Regions from separate parts of the Homo sapiens genome. Here all the other regions are linked to region 5. Evidence: promoter capture Hi-C in 16 types of primary human blood cells and fetal thymus (Javierre and others, 2016). All regions are on one chromosome and are shown on one strand. The core of a region is centred on a gene start or on the middle of the fragment in contact, and the rest is flanking DNA. Distances in the headings are between cores, read along the strand shown.

The links. Contacts are between HindIII fragments. The CHiCAGO score rates a contact against its expected background, and 5 or more counts as called.
Region 1: a fragment that was not itself captured here is called in contact with the fragment with the promoter of COX6A2 in region 5 in 15 of 17 cell types (monocytes, naive CD8 T cells, total CD4 T cells and 12 more); the score reaches 13.3 in monocytes.
Region 2: the fragment with the promoter of HSD3B7 here is called in contact with the fragment with the promoter of COX6A2 in region 5 in 11 of 17 cell types (naive CD8 T cells, activated CD4 T cells, total CD8 T cells and 8 more); the score reaches 11.0 in naive CD8 T cells.
Region 3: a contact is called between a fragment that was not itself captured here and the fragment with the promoter of COX6A2 in region 5, in 5 of 17 cell types (monocytes, naive CD4 T cells, total CD4 T cells and 2 more). The highest score is 6.8, in monocytes.
Region 4: the fragment with the promoter of SETD1A here is called in contact with the fragment with the promoter of COX6A2 in region 5 in 4 of 17 cell types (monocytes, total CD4 T cells, total CD8 T cells and 1 more); the score reaches 5.7 in monocytes.
Region 6: a contact is called between a fragment that was not itself captured here and the fragment with the promoter of COX6A2 in region 5, in 4 of 17 cell types (total CD4 T cells, M1 macrophages, activated CD4 T cells and 1 more). The highest score is 7.0, in total CD4 T cells.
Region 7: a fragment that was not itself captured here is called in contact with the fragment with the promoter of COX6A2 in region 5 in 1 of 17 cell types (erythroblasts); the score reaches 6.0 in erythroblasts.

The regions. Positions count from the first base shown.
Region 1 is chr16:31,002,332-31,005,045 of GRCh38, reverse strand. All of the region lies in intron 1 of STX1B (syntaxin 1B), which reads left to right. Among named protein-coding and RNA genes, the nearest start is that of STX1B, 6.9 kb to the left of the region's middle. The HindIII fragment of the contact is 2,126 bases long and covers 202-2,327 here.
Region 2 is chr16:30,983,628-30,986,456 of GRCh38, reverse strand. It overlaps HSD3B7 (hydroxy-delta-5-steroid dehydrogenase, 3 beta- and steroid delta-isomerase 7), which reads right to left and starts at 1,250. Exons shown (of 7, transcript NM_025193.4): 1 at 1,160-1,250; 2 at 633-804; 3 at 253-408; 4 at 1-34. The coding sequence starts at 798. SETD1A (SET domain containing 1A, histone lysine methyltransferase) reads right to left here. Exons shown (of 19, transcript NM_014712.3): 18 at 2,685-2,822; 19 at 1,793-2,607. The coding sequence ends at 2,434. RefSeq lists an enhancer at 1,269-1,781. The HindIII fragment of the contact is 29,451 bases long and covers 1-2,829 here.
Region 3 is chr16:30,937,789-30,940,524 of GRCh38, reverse strand. All of the region lies in intron 7 of FBXL19 (F-box and leucine rich repeat protein 19), which reads right to left. Among named protein-coding and RNA genes, the nearest start is that of ORAI3, 9.9 kb to the left of the region's middle. The HindIII fragment of the contact is 1,563 bases long and covers 644-2,206 here.
Region 4 is chr16:30,956,442-30,959,162 of GRCh38, reverse strand. It overlaps SETD1A (SET domain containing 1A, histone lysine methyltransferase), which reads right to left and starts at 1,409. Exons shown (of 19, transcript NM_014712.3): 1 at 1,199-1,409; 2 at 282-446; 3 at 1-72. The coding sequence starts at 431. RefSeq lists silencers at 701-790, 931-1,150 and enhancers at 1,751-1,880, 1,338-2,101. The HindIII fragment of the contact is 14,721 bases long and covers 1-2,721 here.
Region 5 is chr16:31,426,943-31,429,642 of GRCh38, reverse strand. It overlaps COX6A2 (cytochrome c oxidase subunit 6A2), which reads left to right and starts at 1,283. Exons shown (of 3, transcript NM_005205.4): 1 at 1,283-1,390; 2 at 1,492-1,628; 3 at 1,786-1,912. The coding sequence starts at 1,318. The coding sequence ends at 1,869. The HindIII fragment of the contact is 1,386 bases long and covers 523-1,908 here.
Region 6 is chr16:31,860,875-31,863,574 of GRCh38, reverse strand. It overlaps the pseudogene RBM22P13. Among named protein-coding and RNA genes, the nearest start is that of ZNF267, 12 kb to the left of the region's middle. The HindIII fragment of the contact is 9,415 bases long and covers 1-2,700 here.
Region 7 is chr16:31,882,146-31,884,902 of GRCh38, reverse strand. ZNF267 (zinc finger protein 267) reads right to left here. Exons shown (of 4, transcript NM_003414.6): 2 at 279-405. Among named protein-coding and RNA genes, the nearest start is that of ZNF267, 9.7 kb to the right of the region's middle. The HindIII fragment of the contact is 4,868 bases long and covers 1-2,757 here.

The sequences.
Region 1 (2,714 bases), core at 15-2,514, 420 kb after region 5:
TTCCTGCAGCCCTGGGCCCCTCCTACTGATTTTCTGTCCTGGCTGCAGGAGTTCAGCAGTCCTGAGGACATGGCAGAGTGGGCTTTTTAGGACCAGGAGGGACTGCCATCTGTCAGCAGGACAGAAGGGAGAGAGCCTGACATTTAGTGCCAGACAGTCCTGGGTTCAGGTCCTACCTCTGGCCTCATTTGCTGTGAAGCTTTAGGCAGGTCAGGCAACCTCTCTGAGCCTGTTTCCTTGTCTGTAACATGGAATCAGCCGGTGGTAGGCATTGTTACCACTCAGCAAATGCAGAGACTAGGCTCAGGGGTAGAGCCAAATGGTCTTCTAACAGCTGACCTGGGGCAAGTTCTTTTTTTTTTTTTTTTAAGAAACGGGGTCTTGCTCTGTCACCCAGGCTGGAGTGCAGTGGCACAATCACAGCTCACTGCAGTCTCTTGACCTCCTGAGCTCCGGGGATCCTCCTACCTCACCCTCCCAAGTAGCTGAGACTACAGGTGCGCACCACCATGCCCAGCTAATTTTTGTATTTTTTGTAGAGACATGATCTTGCTATGTTGCCCAGGCTGGTCTTGAACTCCTGGGTTCAAGTGATCCTCCCACCAGAGCCTCCCAAAGTGCTGGGATTACAGGCGTGAGCCACTACAACTGGCCTGAGTTATTTAGCTCTATGCCTCAGTTTCCCCATCTATAAAAGGGGGCTATAATAATACCTCCAAGGGGACTGTTGTAAGAATGAAATGGATAGATATATGTGGAGCACATAGAACAGTGCCTGGCACATTGTAAAACATCATCTAAATATTTGCATAAGTATAATTATGTTGGCCAATGGTCCTTACAGAGTCCTAATGAAGATTAAATGAGATAACAAGAATGTAAGACTTACGCAAAAAATACCATCAAGTGCTCTTGTTTTGCTAGGTTGTCCGGACACAGAGCCTTCCCCAGATTGGGACTTAGCAGGCGCTCACTGAGAGGGAAAGTAACTGGGAGCGGAAAGTCAGTGGGGGAGGTAGCCCAGTCTGGAGCCTAACAGCGGTCTTTGAGGGGCTGGATGCCCATGGTTTTCTGGCCCTATGTGGCCTGGGTGCCCTTGGGCAAGTCACTCTCCTTTTACCCCCCTGGCTTCCTGTTCCCTCATCTGTGAAATGGGGACGATGATGTTTATGCAGCTTTTCTCTCAGGGCTGGTGGTGCTGAGGATCAAAACGGATTATGGATGTAAAAGTGTTTGTAAATGGTAGAGGATTATTAGCTCCCAGCTCTCTTTGTATTTATTATACCAAATAAACCACACTTGGGCCTTCTATCATTCTTCCTGTCTTGAGGGCAAACAAATAGGTAGCCCAGGGTGCTCCAGAGATGAACCTAAGGGAGGTGGCTCCAAGAACAACAGGAGAGATTGAAATTAGATTTTAGGAAAGACTTCCTAACATTAGCATGGGGAAGGGAGAGACACAGAGAACAGGAAAGTCCTCAGGCACCCGGGCCAGGGAGAGGCCGCATGACCTGCGTGAGGCTGGTGGCTGAGTGAGTGGTTGAAGGGAGAGAAAGGGCAGAGGAAGGCTTTTGGCTCTAGGGGAAGGAGGCCTTGTAGCACAGCTGGATTTTGAGGACAGAGAAAGTGAAGAGCATCATGGTAGGCCGATGGGTCCTCAGAGGTGAGCCCAGCATCCCAGAGCCTCTCAGGGTCCCCAACTTATGCCACCTGTGCCGCCCCACTTTCTGGGGGCAGCTGTGAGCCAAGACAGAGGAAACTCCCTTTCCAGGCGGATGGTTGGGATTGTCTGGAAATTCAACACAAGTGCTGAACACATTTTCCGACACAGTGTGGGCCCAGCGTCTGTGTGAAGACTCCCTGGAGTTCCATTTGGGCTGGGCTTAGCAGGGAGGCTGGGGTGGCTCAGGAGCGTGGAGCTGGAGGCCCCCCAGGCTGTGCTGGCTTTTCCTGGGGCTGTGGGGCACTGCTGATCCTGAGTTTTGGCTGTGTGGACTGCACCTAGGTCCCATCTGGCCCTGTCTAGGTTCAATCTGAGCTGTCTGGGATCTGTCTGGGATCCGTGTGAGCCTCGGCTAGTTCAGTCTGAGCCTGTCTGGTTTCTGTTAGGCCCTGTCTGCGTTCCGCTGGGACCCTGGCAAGCTCTTCTTTTTGGATTCCAACTGAGTACACCCCCAGGTGGATGCTGTTTGGATCCTGTCTTGATTTCACCCAGCCTCTGGGGTTTGGATTCTGTCTGAGCTCTGGCTGGGTTCTTTTTGGAAATCAGAATGAACTCTGTATACATTTCCACTGGGGCTGATCAGGGCTCCAGATGTCATTAAGCTTGATGGACTCAGATTTTGCTGTCAGACCTCTGTCCCAAGCAGAGAAGGACTCAGGTGTGTGTAGCACAGGGCACCTCCCCTACAGCCTCTCCTGTCCAGCTCTGAGTGTGTGTGCAGACATGAGGCTCGGAGAAGCTGGAAGAACAAGCCCAGTGAGCCCTCCCAAATGTCCTCAGGGGTGCAGCTGAAAGCCAGTGTGTCCACACATGTCAGTGCGGCTCAGCTGTGAGTCTGCGTGCGGGTGAACGCCAGCATCAGTGCATCTCCGTGTGGGTGTCGGGGGGGCCTATTCCTGTGTGCCTTGGGTGTCAGCTCTTCTGTCTGTGTCTCGAGTCTGTCTGTCGGTGGCAGTGGTGCTGTGGGTGGGTAAATCTCTTTGTGTCTCTG
Region 2 (2,829 bases), core at 1-2,500, 440 kb after region 5:
GTCTGCACACAAGCCTCGATCACGTTCCGGGTACCTGGCAGAGGAGGAGGCGTATCCAAGCTGCAGCTTCTTCCCTCTCTGCATCTTCCTCCTCCCCATCCCAGGTCCAGGGAAAACCATGACAGGTCAGGGGAGGCGGGGGCAGGGCTGTCAATAGGACAACTTGTCCCAGGGGAGTCACCGGAGGTCAAGGCCAAAGACAGAGTGGGGAACAAACAGGCAAGATGGCCAGGAGTGTCCAGAGCTCCTCACCCTGCACGTTGACCTCATGGATGGTCTTGGGACTGGCCCTGCCAAACACGTCTACCAGCCCAGCCGTGTGGATGACCACATGGGCTCCGGCCACAGCTGCTGCCACCTCATGGGCCTGGGTCACGTCCCCCTGGATGGCAGTCACCCTCACAGGCCCTGGCCGGGGTTGGAGGACACAGGCCATGTCAGAGCTGGGGCCAGAGGCCAGAGGCTGGGTTCATCTTCCACCCTGGAGTCACGTTCCCAATGTGACTCACTCGACCCATCCATGTGGACAGAAACCAGCATCATCTGTTCCACTGCAGGGGTGGGGATCCCAGCTTGGGAAGGGTTGGGGAAGCGTCCACACCCTCTCCACCACAAGCTCCCCCAACAAGAACCTGTCTTCAGCTCCTCCAGCCAGGGACCCAGGTGTTGGTCAAAGACCCGCAGCTCCCCGAGCCGGGGCTCCCGCTGCAGCAGCATTCGCACCACGTGCTCTCCCAGGAAGCCACAGCCCCCTGTGACCAGGTACACCAGCTTCTGGGCCTGTGCAGAGTCGGCCATGCCTGGCTGGGGAAGAGACCTTGGCTCATCCAGGGGCTGGCTGCCACCTGCTGCAACCACCTGTTACTGCTGGAGGTGCCCTGGAGCGGTGACGAGGCTGGCGTTTGCGGGGAGGGCAGAGCTGATCCTGGGAGCTGCAGCAACCAGGCCACCTGCCGTCTGCCCCTGCTGATGGCTGAGTTACGGAGAGAGGGGCGGGCTTGGGGTGCAGGAAGGGGTCAGGGTTTAGGGAGAGAGATTTGAAGGCAGTAAAAGGGTGGGGAGGCCAGGAGTTGAGGGAGGTGGAGGGAAGGTTATAGGAAGGTGGGAAGGGCCGGATGGAGGGAAAGGCCACCTGGGCACTGGCAGCGCCTCTGCCTACCTGCAGCCGCTATCCCAGGGTGCCCAGACTGGCCTGGAGGGGCCCTCTTCTTTCGTCCAGGGCTGGCCGGCCCGCACACCGTCCTTCCGCTGGCTCCTCCTTCTCCCTCCTGCCCCATTCCAGGAACAGAGACCCGCCCAGCCACAACCCCCACCACTCTTGCCCCAAGGCGCCCCCTGGCGGCCGCTCTGTGCTCCACTGGCATCTGGGTCCAGCGGAGAACTTGGTGGGGATGAAGCTCGAACTTGCAGAGTGGGCTGAAGGGGTCTGGGGCTGTGGGTGGAGCCAGCGGTGACCTCATCCCACAGTGTGACCTCAGGCCTTCCCTCCTGCTGGGCTTCCCAGGAGGCCGGAGGTCCAGCTGCAGCTGTGATTGTAGGAAGGGGAGGCCTGACCTTGGCACCACCCTGGCGGGCACTGGTGGGGTATTCCTGGTGCGGGTGCGGCTGCTGCAGCCTGTCAGGGGGTCCGAGACAGTCTCGGACTGTCTCTGCAGGTCTGGGCTCTTGCCTGAAGGCCCCTTTACCTGCCCCACACTTCAGGTACCCACTTTTCCCTCTCTTCAACTTGCACAACCCTCCGTGCCCTCTACCCCCAACCCCTCGCTCCTGCCCAAATACACCGACCAAACACTTTTGTACAATAAAGTTTAATCACAATTATAAAAATGTGGCGTCGGGTTTGCGCTATTAACATATGTACAGTCCAGCCCAGCAAAAGGGACCCACCCCGCCATCCTGGCCTGGCTGAGCCGGGGAGTGACACCAGGGTGGAAGGGTGACCCTCAGGGTCTGGCAGGAACAGATGAGGCAGGGTTCCAGGCACGGAGTCCCCAGGACTGGGGGTGCAGAGCCCCCCCAGGGGGAGAACATGGCCACTGCCCCAGAGACCCCTAAACTGGGGAGGGGTACACGCAGGGCGTAAGGGGAAGTCCCCATTAACACAAAGCAAGAGGACTGTGTAGCCCCCCAGGACAGAATCTGTACAGGCCGGCACCCCAGGTTTCCACAGGAAACAGCTGCTGGCTGCTACAAAACATTTACAGCTTCTTCTCCGCAAAGAAAAACAATCAGGGGGTGGTGGGCAGGGGTGACAGGAGAGGCAGAAGCTGCCTCCAGGGACTGAGGCTCCCTCGCTGGGCTTGGGGCCCCCAACCCCACGCTTGGAGATGGGGGCATGTGGGCCCTGCTGAGCCCACTAAGGCTGGGGGGGTGCTGGGAGCTCAGGGCACCAGGGGGAATAAATAGGGGTGTGGGCACCCATCCTGCCCCACCTCAGTTTAGGGAGCCCCGGCAGCTCTCTGTGCCACACAGACACGGGATCTTGTTGTCTTCCAGTGGGAACTTGTAGTCGTAGGTGATCTCCTCGTCCACGCCAATGGGCTGCTTGGAGTAGATCACGATCTTCTTCTGGGACTCGATGGTGATGACCTTGGCGTAGCAGTTAGGCTGCGGATGGAAGGGCGTGTGAGCCGTGGCCACCCCCACCGACCCCCAACTCCTGCCCCGGCTGGCCCCTGGCGCACCGTGCAGCAGTGGTTGATGAATCTGGCCAGGTTGCCACACTTGGTGGCATCGATGATGGTGTCGTGGTCCACCCGGAACAGGTAGCTGCTGCCAATGCCCTCCTGCACGTAGCGCTTCTCCCGCATGTCGGCCACCATCTGCCAG
Region 3 (2,736 bases), core at 176-2,675, 490 kb after region 5:
TTCTCTGAGTTCAGTAGTTCTCAAAGGCATGTCCAGAAATGCCTCTGAGACTCAATAGACTGTGTCAGAAGCAGCAGGCCCAGGAAGCTTTTTTTTTTTTTTCTTGAGACAGTGTCTTGCTTAGTCACCCAGGCTGGGGTGCAGTACTGCGATCACAGCTCACTGCAACCTTAAACTCCTGGGCTCAAGCCATCCTCCTACCTCAGCCTCCTGAGTAGCTGGGACTACAGGCACATGCCACCACACCTGACTTTTTTTTTTTTTTTGAGACAGAGTTTCGCTCTTGTTGCCCAGGCTGGAGTGCAATGGTGTGATCTTGGCTCACTGAAACCACCATCTCCCAAGTTCAAGCGATTCTCCCGCCTCAGCCTCCAGAGTAGCTGGGATTACAGGCATGCGCCACCACGCCCGGCTAATTTTTTGTATTTTTAGTAGAGATAGGGTTTCTCCATGTTGGCCAGGCTGGTCTCGAAATCCTGACCTCAGGTGATCTGCCCACTTTGGCCTCCCATAGTGCTGGGATTACAGGCGTGAGCCACTGTGCCTGGCCTATTTTTTTATTTTTAGTAGAGACAAGGTTGTCCAGGCTGGTTTTGAACTCCTGAGCTCAAGCGATCCTTCCCTTGGCCTCCCAAGGGAAGCTTTCTCTTGCCTCCCTCCCTGCCCTCATGACTCTGAAAGGCTTTTCCTTGTAGAAGCCCTGGGCTGGGGCAGTGATTCCCAAGCTCCAGTATTTGCTGTTCACTTATCTGCGTAACATGATTTATCTTTGAATCATCTCCTCTTTGCACTTAAAACCAGTATTGTTGCCGGGCGCGGTGGCTCATGCGTGTAATCCCAGCACTTTGGGAGGCCGAGGTGGGTGGATCACTAGGTCAGGAGATCAAGACCATCCAGGCTAACACAGTGAAACCCCGTCTCTACTAAAAAAAAAATACAAAAAATTAGCTGGGCGTGGTGGAGGGCGCCTGTAGTCCCAGATACTCGGGAGGCTGAGGCAGGAGAATGGCGTGAATCTGGGAGGTGGAGCTTGCAGTGAGCCGAGATCGTGCCACTGCACTCCAGCCTGGGCGACAGAGCGAGACTCCGTCTCAAAAAAAAAACAAAAAAAAAAACCCCAGTATTGTTTCACATAAATATGTTAATCTTAAAAATAAACACAAAAGTCCAAGTGTGGTGTAATCCCAGCACTTTGGGAGGCCAAGGTGGACAGATCACGAGGTCAGGAGATTGAGACCATCCTGGCTAACACGGTGAAACCCCATCTCTACTAAAAATACAAAAAATTAGCCGGGCGTGGTGGCGGGCACCTGTAGTCCCAGCTACTTGGGAGGCTAAGGCAGGAGAATGGCATGAACCTGGGAGGCGGAGCTTGCAGTAAGCCGAGATTGCGCCACTGCACTCCAGCCTGGGTGACAGAGCGAGACTCTGTCTCAAAAATAAATAAATAAATAAATAAAACACAAAAAAGACCAGAGTTATTAAATCCTAGCCAGGTGTTGCTGTGGCTTTAGGCTACTACCTGAAGACTACTTTTGTTAAACAGGGAGATAAGTATCAGAGAAGTGTTAGAAAAAGCACCCAATAGTGGCCAGGCGCAGTGGCTCACGCCTGTAATCCCAGCACTTTGGGAGGCCGAGGCAGGCGGATCACGAGATCAGGAGATGGAGACCATCCTGGCTAATACGGTGAAACCTCGTATCTGCTAAAAATACAAAAGATTAGCCGGGCGTGGTGGCAGGCGCCTGTAGTCCCAGCTACTCAGGAGGCTGAGGCAGGAGAATGGCGTGAACCCAGGAGGCGGAGCTGGCAGTGAGCCGAGACTGCACCACTGCACTCCAGCCTGGGCGACAGAGCAAGACTCCATCTCAAAAAAGAAAAAAAGCACCCGATGGAGAGACTTCCTTCCAATGGAAAGACTTCCTTTCCAAAACTCACAGAGGGATTAAGCCATATTTTTGTGTCACTGAAAAATGCCAGACCTACTCCAGAGGCCCAGTGTGTCATTTCATTATTTTTTTCAGACAAAGTCTCACTGTCGCCCAGGCTAGAGCTCAGTGATGCAATCATAGCTCACTGCAGCCTCAAACTCCTGGGCTCAAGTGATCCCCTTGCCTCAGCCTCCCATGTGGCTGGGACCACAGGTATGCTTAGCTAATTTTTTCTTTTTTAATAGAGATGGGGGTCTCACTATGTTGCCCAAGCTTGTCTTGAACCCCTGGGCTCAAGCAATTCTCCTGCCTCAGCCTCCCAAAGTGCTGGGATTACAGGCGTGAGCCACTGGGCCCAGCCCTGGTGTGACGTTTTAGAGAAGGCTGAGGGCACAGACACCAAGGCTTCAGTCCGAACACCTTCACCCCTCTGCCACTCGCTCTCCTGTTCCCTCCTACCCTCATCCTGCTTTTCTGGCATTCTAGCCTCTCCCTCTCCTGATTCCTTCCTCTCAACTAATAAACATCTGCAAATCTCTCCAATTCAAAACATGAAAAGGAAAAAAACCAACTCATGCCCGACCCAGCTTCTACCCCTAGGTCCTGCCCCTTTGCTCTTTCTGTGAGCAAGAAAATCGGTGACATCTGCTCTATCCAAAACCTCTCTCTGCCCACTGTGACCCTGCCACGACTGCCTCCCAGCTTAACTGTCACCACTTCCTTGAAGCCACTTCCCTTCCACGGTCCACAGCTGGAAGGAAGCCCCTTTCCCTGGGGGCACCCACAGGACCCCAGTTGTGTTTCT
Region 4 (2,721 bases), core at 160-2,659, 470 kb after region 5:
AAAGTCTCTGTTTTTGGACCTGACATGGCAACGGGGGTCTTGGAGGTCTTCGACTGGTATATACTTTGAGTCCTAGGAAGGAAAGCAGCAGCAGAAAGAGAGCTCAGGGTGAATCCAGGCTAGGGAGCTCCAAGCAGCCCATCTGGACACACACATGCAGAAGAGCTGGGTCCAACTGCCCACTTTCAAGAAGGCAGGCTACCGTTCTAGGTGCTGAACAGAATCACAGAGGACGGGCGCCTGGAGCTCCCCGGATGGCAACCAAAGACCCGGGCACTCACGTTGACACTGAAGTGGACTCCATCATAGCGGTACACCTTCTGAGAAGGCCTGCGCAGGGCAGGGTCCAAGGCAGGATCCACGATGAGCTTGTAGTTCCGCCACTGGAAGCTCGGGGCCTTCTGCCCATCTCCCCCACCTTCCTGATCCATCTTTGCTCATTTACACTGTTAGGGGAAGAGGGACACGCAAGAAGGATCAGGACTTGGGGCCTGACTCCCCTGCCTTTCCTCATTGGCTAGCCCCGATTCCAGGTTCTCCCATCACTCCAGTTTCCAACCCTCACCCTGACCCGGGGCTCCCCCGGATTCTCCCCCAAGTACCCTCTGTTTCGCCACAACAACCCAGCCTCTTTCCACCTCCCAACTCTACTGTCAGGCCCCCAGGCCCGTCTCGAGCCCCCTTACCTTCCCGCTCTCCCTAGCGCGCGCCCCACTTGGCCTCGGAGCAAGACCCCTCCCCCGCCCCCTGCAGGCCCCGCCCCCTCCCGCCTCCTCACCGGCCAGCGGCCCGGGCCGAGCCCGGCCACGGCTCCCACACACCCGCTCTCCTCCCCGCGCCCCGATCCTCCGGCCGAAAGGTGGCACCTCTTCGGGGCGTTGGAAACACCGCGAGACCGAGCCCGAGACCCGGCTTCGACCCCGAATCCGGGCGGGGGGGTGGGGGGAACGTGCACCGCTGCCCTCTCCTCCCGCCCCGGCGCGTTCTGCACCCCCCCCAGCAGGTCTCCGCGCACGCGCGCCGCGCGGCCCCACTCACCCGCTCCCGGCGAGCGGCTCCCCCTCCCCCCACCTCGCGCGGCACCTCAGCGGCGCGAGGCGGCGGCAGCGGCAGCGCGAGACCCGGCCCCGCAGCGGTGGCGGCGGCGGCGCCCCCCCACCACCACCTCCCCGGCGCGCGCACCAAACACCACTGCCACCTGCGCGAGGCCCAGCGGGCACAGGGTCTGCATTCGCACTTTCGCCACAGGCGCTGCCGGGGGACCCACGGGGCCGAGGGTAGCGGCTTCGCCTCGGCCGGCGCCCTGGGAGGCTCGGAAGTTGCGGCCCAGGGAGCTTGGAGATTGGCCGCATCCCCCGGAGAGTCGGCTTCGCCACGACGATCTAGATGCTGCGGCCCGGGACCTTGACGAATCGGCGGCGACGAAAGCTGCGACTAGTCCCTGAGGAAAAGGGGCGGGGCGGAGGGGAGGAGGCCAGCCAGCGCTGGGGAACCTTCAGTGGCGCGTTCTGCAGACGCAGATTCACCGGGCGGGCGGGGCGAATCGCTGGACAGGATGCGCGCCGCTTTGCTTCTCTTCCCCGTCCCTTCCTTGCACTGCCAAATTCTGAGAGGCTGCAGATTCGCCACTGTTCCCGGCCTCAGCCGTAGCCTCCCCTTCATCCGCCTTGGTGGAGTCAAGAAAATAACGGCCCGTTAGCCAATCCCTGCTGGCAGAGTCGACAACTTTTTTTGGATTTTTCTTACTGGCCCAAGTGAGAGAATAGCCCGCTTCTGTCCCTGGGGAAAATGCCTCCAGCCCAGCGCTCCTCTCAGAGTCCGATGAGAATTTTCAGCCGAGTATCGAGGGACCCGAGGAATTCTGAGGATCCGACCTGGCGAATCTGCGGATTCCGCTGTGGGCGGGGCCGAGTCAAGGGGCGGGGCCAGGGCGTGCAGAGCCTGGGACTAGGGGGCGCCTCCGGGAGGACCCACGAGGACTCACCCGGATGGGAGGGACGGCCGGGAGGTGGAAAAACACAACCGTGAGCGGTGACTCAGGCGGTTTGCCCCGCCTCGCACATAAATGCAGGGTACCTTTCCTTCCCGTTATTGCCCTTGGGTGTCTGGCTGCTTAGGATGCCCATTTGCCAGATGGGGAGAGTGAGGCCTGTAGAAGGTGCCCTACTTTGCCGTACTCAAACCCACCATTAGTGGTTAAATCCAGGGACCGCCTCAAGGTTTTCTGATGAGCCTAGTGGGGCCTAAGTGCCCTTAAATGGGCCTTGTAATAATAAACGAGGTCCTACAGGAACGGGACTGGACTGGTGTGTCCTCCTGGCGTCATGGTCCCACTGCCCGCTTCTTTGGCTATGGCGCCCTATGCTCACGGGATGCCTCCGCACAAGGGCAGCAGCGGCCCAGGCCTACCCCTGGAACTCGGGCTGAGGTTTCTGAAGGCTGGGCACCGTTTTGATCCCGTGTGGGCGCAGGCACTCCCAGGAGGTCCCTTTTCCTGAGCTGAGGATGCCCCAAGCTCCTGATATGTGTACATCAGGCCCTCGCTATATGGCCTTGGGCAAGTCATTGACCTAAGTTTCAGAGTCTTCCTTTAAACTTGGATGTCAATTTGTACACATCCGAACAGTGCAGAAAAGACCCTTAGAGCCTGGTTTATGCAAATTCACCATTTTAAGTAATAGGAAAAGGTGGAAGGGAGACTTATCCAAGGTCTCACACCAC
Region 5 (2,700 bases), core at 34-2,533:
AAAAGGCATTGTTGTAGGGTTAACCAAAGTAACAAGGTTCAAGCATTCATTACATACATATTTTTAGAACACCTCCTTCATGCCAAGGTCCCTGCCCGTTGCTGAGGACAGAACAGGCAGATGTCATCCCTGCCTGGTCTTGTGGCTTTCTTGTGACCTGCTTTGATAGAGGGTTCACACCAGCCCTGTCTAGGCTTGCTTTCTCCAAGTAGTCATATTTTTCAGATTGAAATAATGCACTTTGCAGTAGACACCTGTCAGGCTTGTGGCTGCCTGGAACCTTTTGAATACTCATCCTAGACCTGGAGATTTTCCCTACAATTCCTGCCTCCCTAAGGCAGAATCCAGAGCTCAGTTTCCCATCCCCTCCTGCAGCTGGGGGACCTAGGGGTTGCCAGTTGGTGCAATCACATAATTCTTTCAGAAAAGAGCGACCCAGGATACAGGTTTCATGAAGAATCTGTTTTCAAGAGGGGATGAGGGTGGAAAATTCTGGTTTTCCAGGGCAGCCTTAATGAAGCTTTTGGCATCCAGGGTCCAGCAGTGTGAGCTGTGGGGGTGTCACTGCAGCTGGCCAACGGAATGACTTGTTTATGACTGTGCAGACTGTAGGCATCTCTGGCTATATCAGACATAGTAAGCTACCTAAGATTCTCAATTACTTATCTTCTAAAACTAGTAAGAGTGAGTTCTGTTCTTTGCAAAGAACTGTGACTAATACATATACTGAACTACTGTTACCTGCCAAAATCCAGGTTGACACATTCCTACCTTACATAAACTTCATAAAAATGATGTAAGGGCCGTGTAGTGGCTCATGCCTGTAATCCCAGCACTGTGGGAGGCTGAGGCGGGAGGATCACGTGAGCTCAAGAGTTCCACACCAGCCTGGACAATATAGTGAGATCCCCGTCTCCAGTATTTAAAAAATCTTTTAAGGTACGAATTATTATACATTTTACAGCTGAAAACACTGAGACTCAAAAAGACACTTAATTCATTCTACAAATATTTATTAAAGCCCAACTGTGTGCCAGCCACCAGGCATAGAATAGGGAACAAAATAGTTTCCCTGCAACTATATAAAAAGAATGGCATATTGTACTTAAATGCCTCCTTGCCAAAATAAGAGGCACAGGACAACAGCTGTCTGGAGATGACCTCAAGCCAGTCAGGCCCCATTTTAAATATAGAAACCCCTAAGAATAGCCGCCAGTGCTCCAGACTCAACAGGTGATTGGCCCAGAGAGGGGAGGTGACCCCAGGCCCCAGGAAAGGGAGCGAGGACAGCGCTGGTTCCCGGCTCCCCGCACCATCATGGCTTTGCCTCTGAGGCCCCTGACCCGGGGCTTGGCCAGCGCTGCCAAAGGAGGCCACGGAGGAGCAGGAGGTGAGTGGGGAACGGGCGGATCCGGGGGCTCCCCTACCCTGCCCACCTGTTCACAGGCCCGCCGCCCCAGGACCGCCGCGCTCACCCCGCTCCGTCCGCAGCTCGTACCTGGCGTCTGCTGACCTTCGTGCTGGCGCTGCCCAGCGTGGCCCTCTGCACCTTCAACTCCTATCTCCACTCGGGCCACCGCCCGCGCCCCGAGTTCCGTCCCTACCAACACCTCCGCATCCGCACCAAGGTACGCGGGACGGGCGCGCGGGCGGCACGGGGGTGCTGCGGGGGCGGGGGGGGGTGCTGCGGGGGCGGGGGGGGGTGCTGCGGGGGGGGGGTCGCGCGGGGCGCGGACTCCGGACTCACGGCGCTCACGCGCGCTCCCTCCCCCGCTCTCTCCACAGCCCTACCCCTGGGGGGACGGCAACCACACTCTGTTCCACAATAGCCACGTGAACCCTCTGCCCACGGGCTACGAACACCCCTGAGGCCCCGGACGCCCCCGGACACAATAAAGGTGTGAAGCTTCGAGTCTGCGGCTCTGTGGGGAGGGCGGGGCCACGGGGAGCGCGCCCAGAGGCGCCCGCTCCGCGCATGCGCCCAGCTTGGTAAGCGCTCCTGCTCCGCGCATGCGCCTAGCGCGGTGGGCGCTCCACGTGCTTTTCCCACGCCGCTGATACGGAGGTGCTCGAGGGAGCCTCCTCCACTCACAGGTAGGCGATCCCAGCTCCCTGTCTCTCACCTGGTAATAATGAGGCCTCCCTCTCACACACACCTATTAATAATTAGGGCTCTAGGCTGTAATGGGCTTCCGCGTACACCGAATCCTCACAGTAACGCTGGGAGCAGGGTATAAATTTAGTTCACCTTCTCCCGAGGAAGACCTGAGATTCTTGGGAATTAAATGACTTGTCCAAGTTCCGGCAGCTCGGCAGAGCCCCCATGGGAGCCCAGGGCTGCAGATCCTGAAGTCCCACTTCTTGCCTGACACCTGAGCTGCTGGTGTCTGTGAATCCCAGCTCTCTGGATTTCAGACGGAGGCTCCACAGTCCTGTGTGTGAGGCCTTGGGACCTAATGCTGGATTTGGAATCTTTTGATAATTCTCTATAATCTTTCTTTCTTTTTTTTTTTTTTTTTTTGAGACGGAGTCTCGCTCTGTCGCCCAGGCCGGACTGCGGACTGCAGTGGTGCAATCTCGGCTCACTGCAAGCTCCGCTTCCCGGGTTCACGCCATTCTCCTGCCTCAGCCTCCTGAGTAGCTGGGACTACAGGCGCCCGCCACCGCGCCCGGCTAATTTTTTGTATTTTTAGTAGAGAC
Region 6 (2,700 bases), core at 70-2,569, 430 kb before region 5:
TTTTGAATGGAGACAGGACCACCACCATTGTGTCAGCCCAGCTTTTCCTTCTGCCCCTGGTTCTTGAGATCTTGAGATCATGAGAAATTTCCTTTGAAAGTATGTGATTCCTCTTTCTTGATTCAAGGTGAAACTCTCTTCCAAGGAATCCCCATTCTTGTAGGAAACTCTGGATTTCCTAGTCTCTCCAAGGACTGGCCTACAAGGGACAGAGAAAAGTGAATACACCTTGAAACTACTCAGAGTGTATATTTGAGTGACTTTCAGAGACCCTCCCTCTATGCCACCAAGGCCTAAGCATGACCTTGTTTCTGTTGGTGGGAGATGATAAAACCTTACTTGGCAAGTTTGAAAACGAGGATTGCTGGGCGAAGTAATGTCCAATCTTTAAACTCATGGACATATCAGGAAGCATCTGTGCATCTGGATATTTATGATGCTCAATAATGGATAAAGACACCTGAAAAGTGAGTGAACAAAAGAATTTTCAGGCTAAATATTCCTTCCCCTGAAGGGTTCTTCCTTTGTTTCAGGCATAGCGATCTGGCCTGAGAAGGGGCCTTGGGTCACCTTGTGGTCACCAGGACTTGCTTGCAAGAGCTCCATGTATAACAGGCCATAGACTCATCATCTGTGGAGCCACTCCTGTTGCCCAGAATAAGAATTCATGGCTGCCAAAAGTGCCTGTGGTTAGAGCAGAAAGATTGCGAGTTGGTGGGGGAAGAGAGCTAATCCAAAAATTAAAGAAAAGGGTATTCAAACATGAGATAATCTCTTTATCATGCCTTTCCTATAAGTTGATTAAATACGGGAAATCACAGTACTGAAAATAATAATCTAAAATTCTAACTACTAAACTTTGAGCTACGATATATGTGTCACTATAAAGTAATAGAGAATTTATCTCAGTCCAAAATTAATAACAAAGAATTTCAAAATCAGTTTTGAGCTTTGCCTTCTATGTATGTGAAAGAACAAGATCCAGACTCCCTCCAGCATCAAACAAGTAGAAAGCCAGATCCACTATGTGACCTAAATGTGTCCAGATGCTAGAAAGTATCTGATAGGGGCACAGGACAGTGGCCTGGAGGCTGAATCCAAGGGAGGGGACCCCCTGGCTGCCCCAACTCAGAGCCTGCAGAGAGCGTCCAGGAGGCAGTGCAGTGAGGCAGGATCCCGACAGAGCATGGAAATCCCTGAGTTTAGGAAACAGGATTGATGATATAAGGAGAAAGGTGGCTGGAAGGCACAGGGCTGAGTACCAGAGAGCAGGAGGGAGTGGCTGAACTGAGGTAAGACTGGAGAGTAGAAGATGGGGGGTCACTGAACCATTGGCAGATACAAGGGTAATCACCAATTAAACAAATTTGTCCCAGTGAAAGAGGAAAAAGGAACCCTGCCTTTTTCTTTCAGAGCATTTTTAAAAGAAAACTTGTCCCTATGAGTTTCTTCTCTGTCCCCTTGTGACGTATGGAAGTCTCCAAAAGTTAAGTAAGCCGCTTACCAACTTCCAACCAGGACTGTCTTTCTCAAGGGCCTGGGAGCCATCTCTCTAAAATGGAATCATTAAGGGAGCAAGTTCCCATGAGAGGGTAGGAGCCCAGCTTCCGCCAGTGCCTGGCTCTAACTTACTAACCTACTCCTGCCATAAACTATGAGACACTGGTCTTTTCTTGTCATAAATGTGATTAGTGAACACAGTGGGTACCCTTGAGGGACATGTAAAAACAGTGCTGTCAAGTCCCTTCCCTGAGGACTGGTTACTGTTTATCTCGGGAACACGCATGCACTGGTTGTAGCTGCCTGGCTATGCACAAGGGTGAGATTTCCTTCTTTCTTGCAATGTGCTAGGTTATTATCTGTTTTGTGCATCACAATGCCGTTTAATGATTCTTCAATGAAACTGTTTTCTTTCTCTTCTATCTTTCCGGAGAGATTTCCTGAGTTGGCAAGAGACTTTGTTGTTAATCATATTCCCCACCACAGGTAGTGACATCACTATGCTAGAGGGGAGCTGAAGACCTGAGTGGCAGCATCTCTCCCTGCTGCCTCAGCCAAGGCCCCAGTGCCCAGGAAGGGATGCCACCACCTGGAGTAGAGCCTCAGATGGGAACTAATATCAGTAACTTGATATTTCTGCTTGGATAATGGGCAAATTAGAGATAGCTCAGTTTAATCCATTCACAACCAAGCATTTCAGTTCTGGGGAAGACAGACTAGACATACATGTCTCTATTCTTCCCAATAAGTACAACTAAAATCCCTGGACATTATACATGAAACCAAATGGAGAAAGCTCTAAAAGGTGGAAGAAAGCAAGCATACTGTTCGTGAACCGAAGAAAGATGTGATAACAGAGTGGGGTGAAACACGGGTTTCTTTGCCCATATACTGTAGTCTTGGAGCTAAAGAAACTGGCAACTCAGATACACCAATAGGCAAAGGCAAAAAAATAAAACCAGAAAACTTTTATCCAGTGACTGCCCTACTACAGCCAAAACCACTGAAAAACCATGGCTGCCTGCCCACGTATGCCACCAAAAGCCAAATGAGAGGCTAGAGTTTCACCTATGCCAGGATGAAATGCAGACAGCACCATAGGCTTTCTTTCCCTTTTGTGTTTTATAAATTGTATTTGATGCTTTAAGGAAAAATGGTAAGATTTTCAACTATGATAATTTCTGTATATAACGTAATATC
Region 7 (2,757 bases), core at 28-2,527, 460 kb before region 5:
ACAAAAAAAATTGGATTTTAAAGTGTAAGCAACAATAGTTTATGTCAACCAATTTCTAGAATCACGACTAGAGTGAAACTTGTACATCACCTCAAATAAAAAGGCGAATGTCAAAATCAAACATTATGAAATTTTTTCTACTTCAACAAAACCCCTATTTTTTTCCTGAAAACAAGAATCTAAAACTAACTCATACAAAGCACAAGATCCCAAGGGACATTCTGAAAAGAAAATAAAACTCTTAGTTATTAGATATTCCGAAGGCAAGTTATCCTCACCCAGAGAGACCAGGTTTCTGTAGTTTTCTAACATCACATCCTGATACAAATTCTTCTGAGCTGGTTCCAGGTGTTCCCACTCCTCCAAAGAGAATTCTACGGCCACATCCCTGAATGTCAACAGTCCCTGAAATAAAAATAAAGAATACACTGACCATGTGGCCATGGCAGAGTTCTTCATTTGTCCCAAGATGAAATGACAGTTATTGGTTCTGACATATATGAGTGACCTGAATTATTCAGTAAGATCATTTTTAACACAGTAATATTTTCTAATGTAGTCTCAAACTCTGTGGAAAGAAAATAACATAAAATCCACAAAACTAGTGTAGATATTTATATCAAATGTAAAATATAAAACTAAGGCATCAACACAGGAATATACATTTTTGGGTGCTATATTTACATCATCCAGAATCAGCTGTGTATAATTCTCAGGTGCAAAAGTCATGGTGACTTAGAGGCATACTTCTCAAATTGTATAGTATACAACAATAAACTGGAGATCTTCTTCAAAGGCAGAGTCTGATTCAGGAGATCTAGATTTTGAGTTTCTGCATTTCCATATTTTTTAATTTTTAATTTTGACACAGGGTCTCGCTCTGCCACCCAGGCTGGAGTGCAGTGGTTGAATCTTGGCTCACTGCAGCCTCAACCTCCTGGGCTCAGGCGATCCTCCTGTTTCAGCCTCCTGAGTAGCTAAGGCTACAGGCATGAGCCACCATGGCTGGCTGAGTATCTGCATGTCTAACAAGTTCACCAGTAGTGTTAATGCTTCAGGCCCCAAAGCCACTTTTGAATAGCAGAGAGGTCGAACACTGAGGAAAGAATTCAGGCATGATGTGAAACTGAGAGTTTTATGAAATTTACAAGTTATAACAGCTAGAATGGTAGTAATCCTTTTTGAACATGCACAATATATCAGATATCATCCTAAAAGTTGTTTACATATATAAAACCCAATAAATAATCTGAGAAAAATTATATTCTTCCTCTTATATAAAAATTATTTTCCAAATATTTGCTACATAGTAGTTTGTATTTTGCCTCAGTTTATCTGATTTAGAATTTATCTCAAAGGGACATACCGGCCAATATACAGAGACAACCTTAACAGAATGTTCAGAGAAGATTTCGTAACTGAGTAACGAAAACAAGAAAGCAGCCACACAATAGTGATCGAATAATGCTTTCATTTTATGTGCATATGTGCACATAATGGTAACTATATACACACTAAAAGTAAGATAATATTTCTGTGTAAATAAAATTTAAAAATATTTTAAATTGTATAAAAACTATAAAACTCTTTGTGGGTGATGCCTTTTTTGTGATGCCTTTATAAAGACCAATACATACAATGAAATAAAGTAAAGGCTCTTGTTTCTGAGTCTGGTATTTTTTTTCAAGTTTTTGTTATGTTTATTCTATGTGCTATTATATATTTTAGAATTTTAAGACAATAGACATATTTGTTATATGTTAATTCTTGTTCTTTCTCTGAAAATATAGAGAATAAATAAGCATATGCTTGTGACATGAGATGAAATAAAATGGAAACCTACAGAACTGAGACCTGCTTCAGAACTTCCAGTCTTAAAAGCTGTTATCTCCTGTCAACAAATGTGAGAGCCTTTACTCTGCAAAGAAAGCTACAAGCAAAGGGAAACCAAAAAGAAATGGGAGTCTCTGGATTAAATGTGATGGTTTATAGACATCACTCAGTAAATCCTCCCTCCTAGATACTCATTACAAAGAGAAAAATGATTAACTTTATAGCGAAGGAATCTGACAGAGAGCACCTGCACCAAGTGAATGAAGTTAGCATCGTCTGTAATAAGACAAATTGGTACCAGTGCTAATGCACAGATGGGCCCATAATCATTGCTGTGATATGGGCGGAGGGGAACAGTAAATCATAATCTTAATATAATCATAAAAAAACAATCTGTGGGGGAAGATACAGGTGACCATAGATCTTCAAACTGGTTATGTGACCCTACTTAGAAGCCTGGGCTGAGAATCACTTAGCTAAGCATTGCCTCTCAAGGTTCAATACGCATACATATCATTTGGTATTCTGGGCCCCCTCTAAGTAATGTGATTCTGCAGGTTTGGAAAGTTTCCATGAACTGGCTTCTTTAACAAGTCCCCTGTCAATGCTGATGTTGCTCCTCCTAGACCCATTATCAATAGCACTCAGCTAGAGGAAGCAGACACAGCACAGAGTCCCTTACGCCCAATACTCTAATCACAACAAAAATACTTTTCGTTCACAGTGAGGACCACCAACCACTGTCCTGAAAGATCACACCCTTTGCCAGCCATTTAAAGTCTACAGATACAGAGACTGGAGAAGACAGTTATGTCTAAGTCAGCATTTGGAAAACAGCACGGATACATGCATTAAAGCAGTGTTTATTGAGCTTGTACTATGTGCTCACAGTATGTACTGTGCTGGGAACATCACATGGTGTGA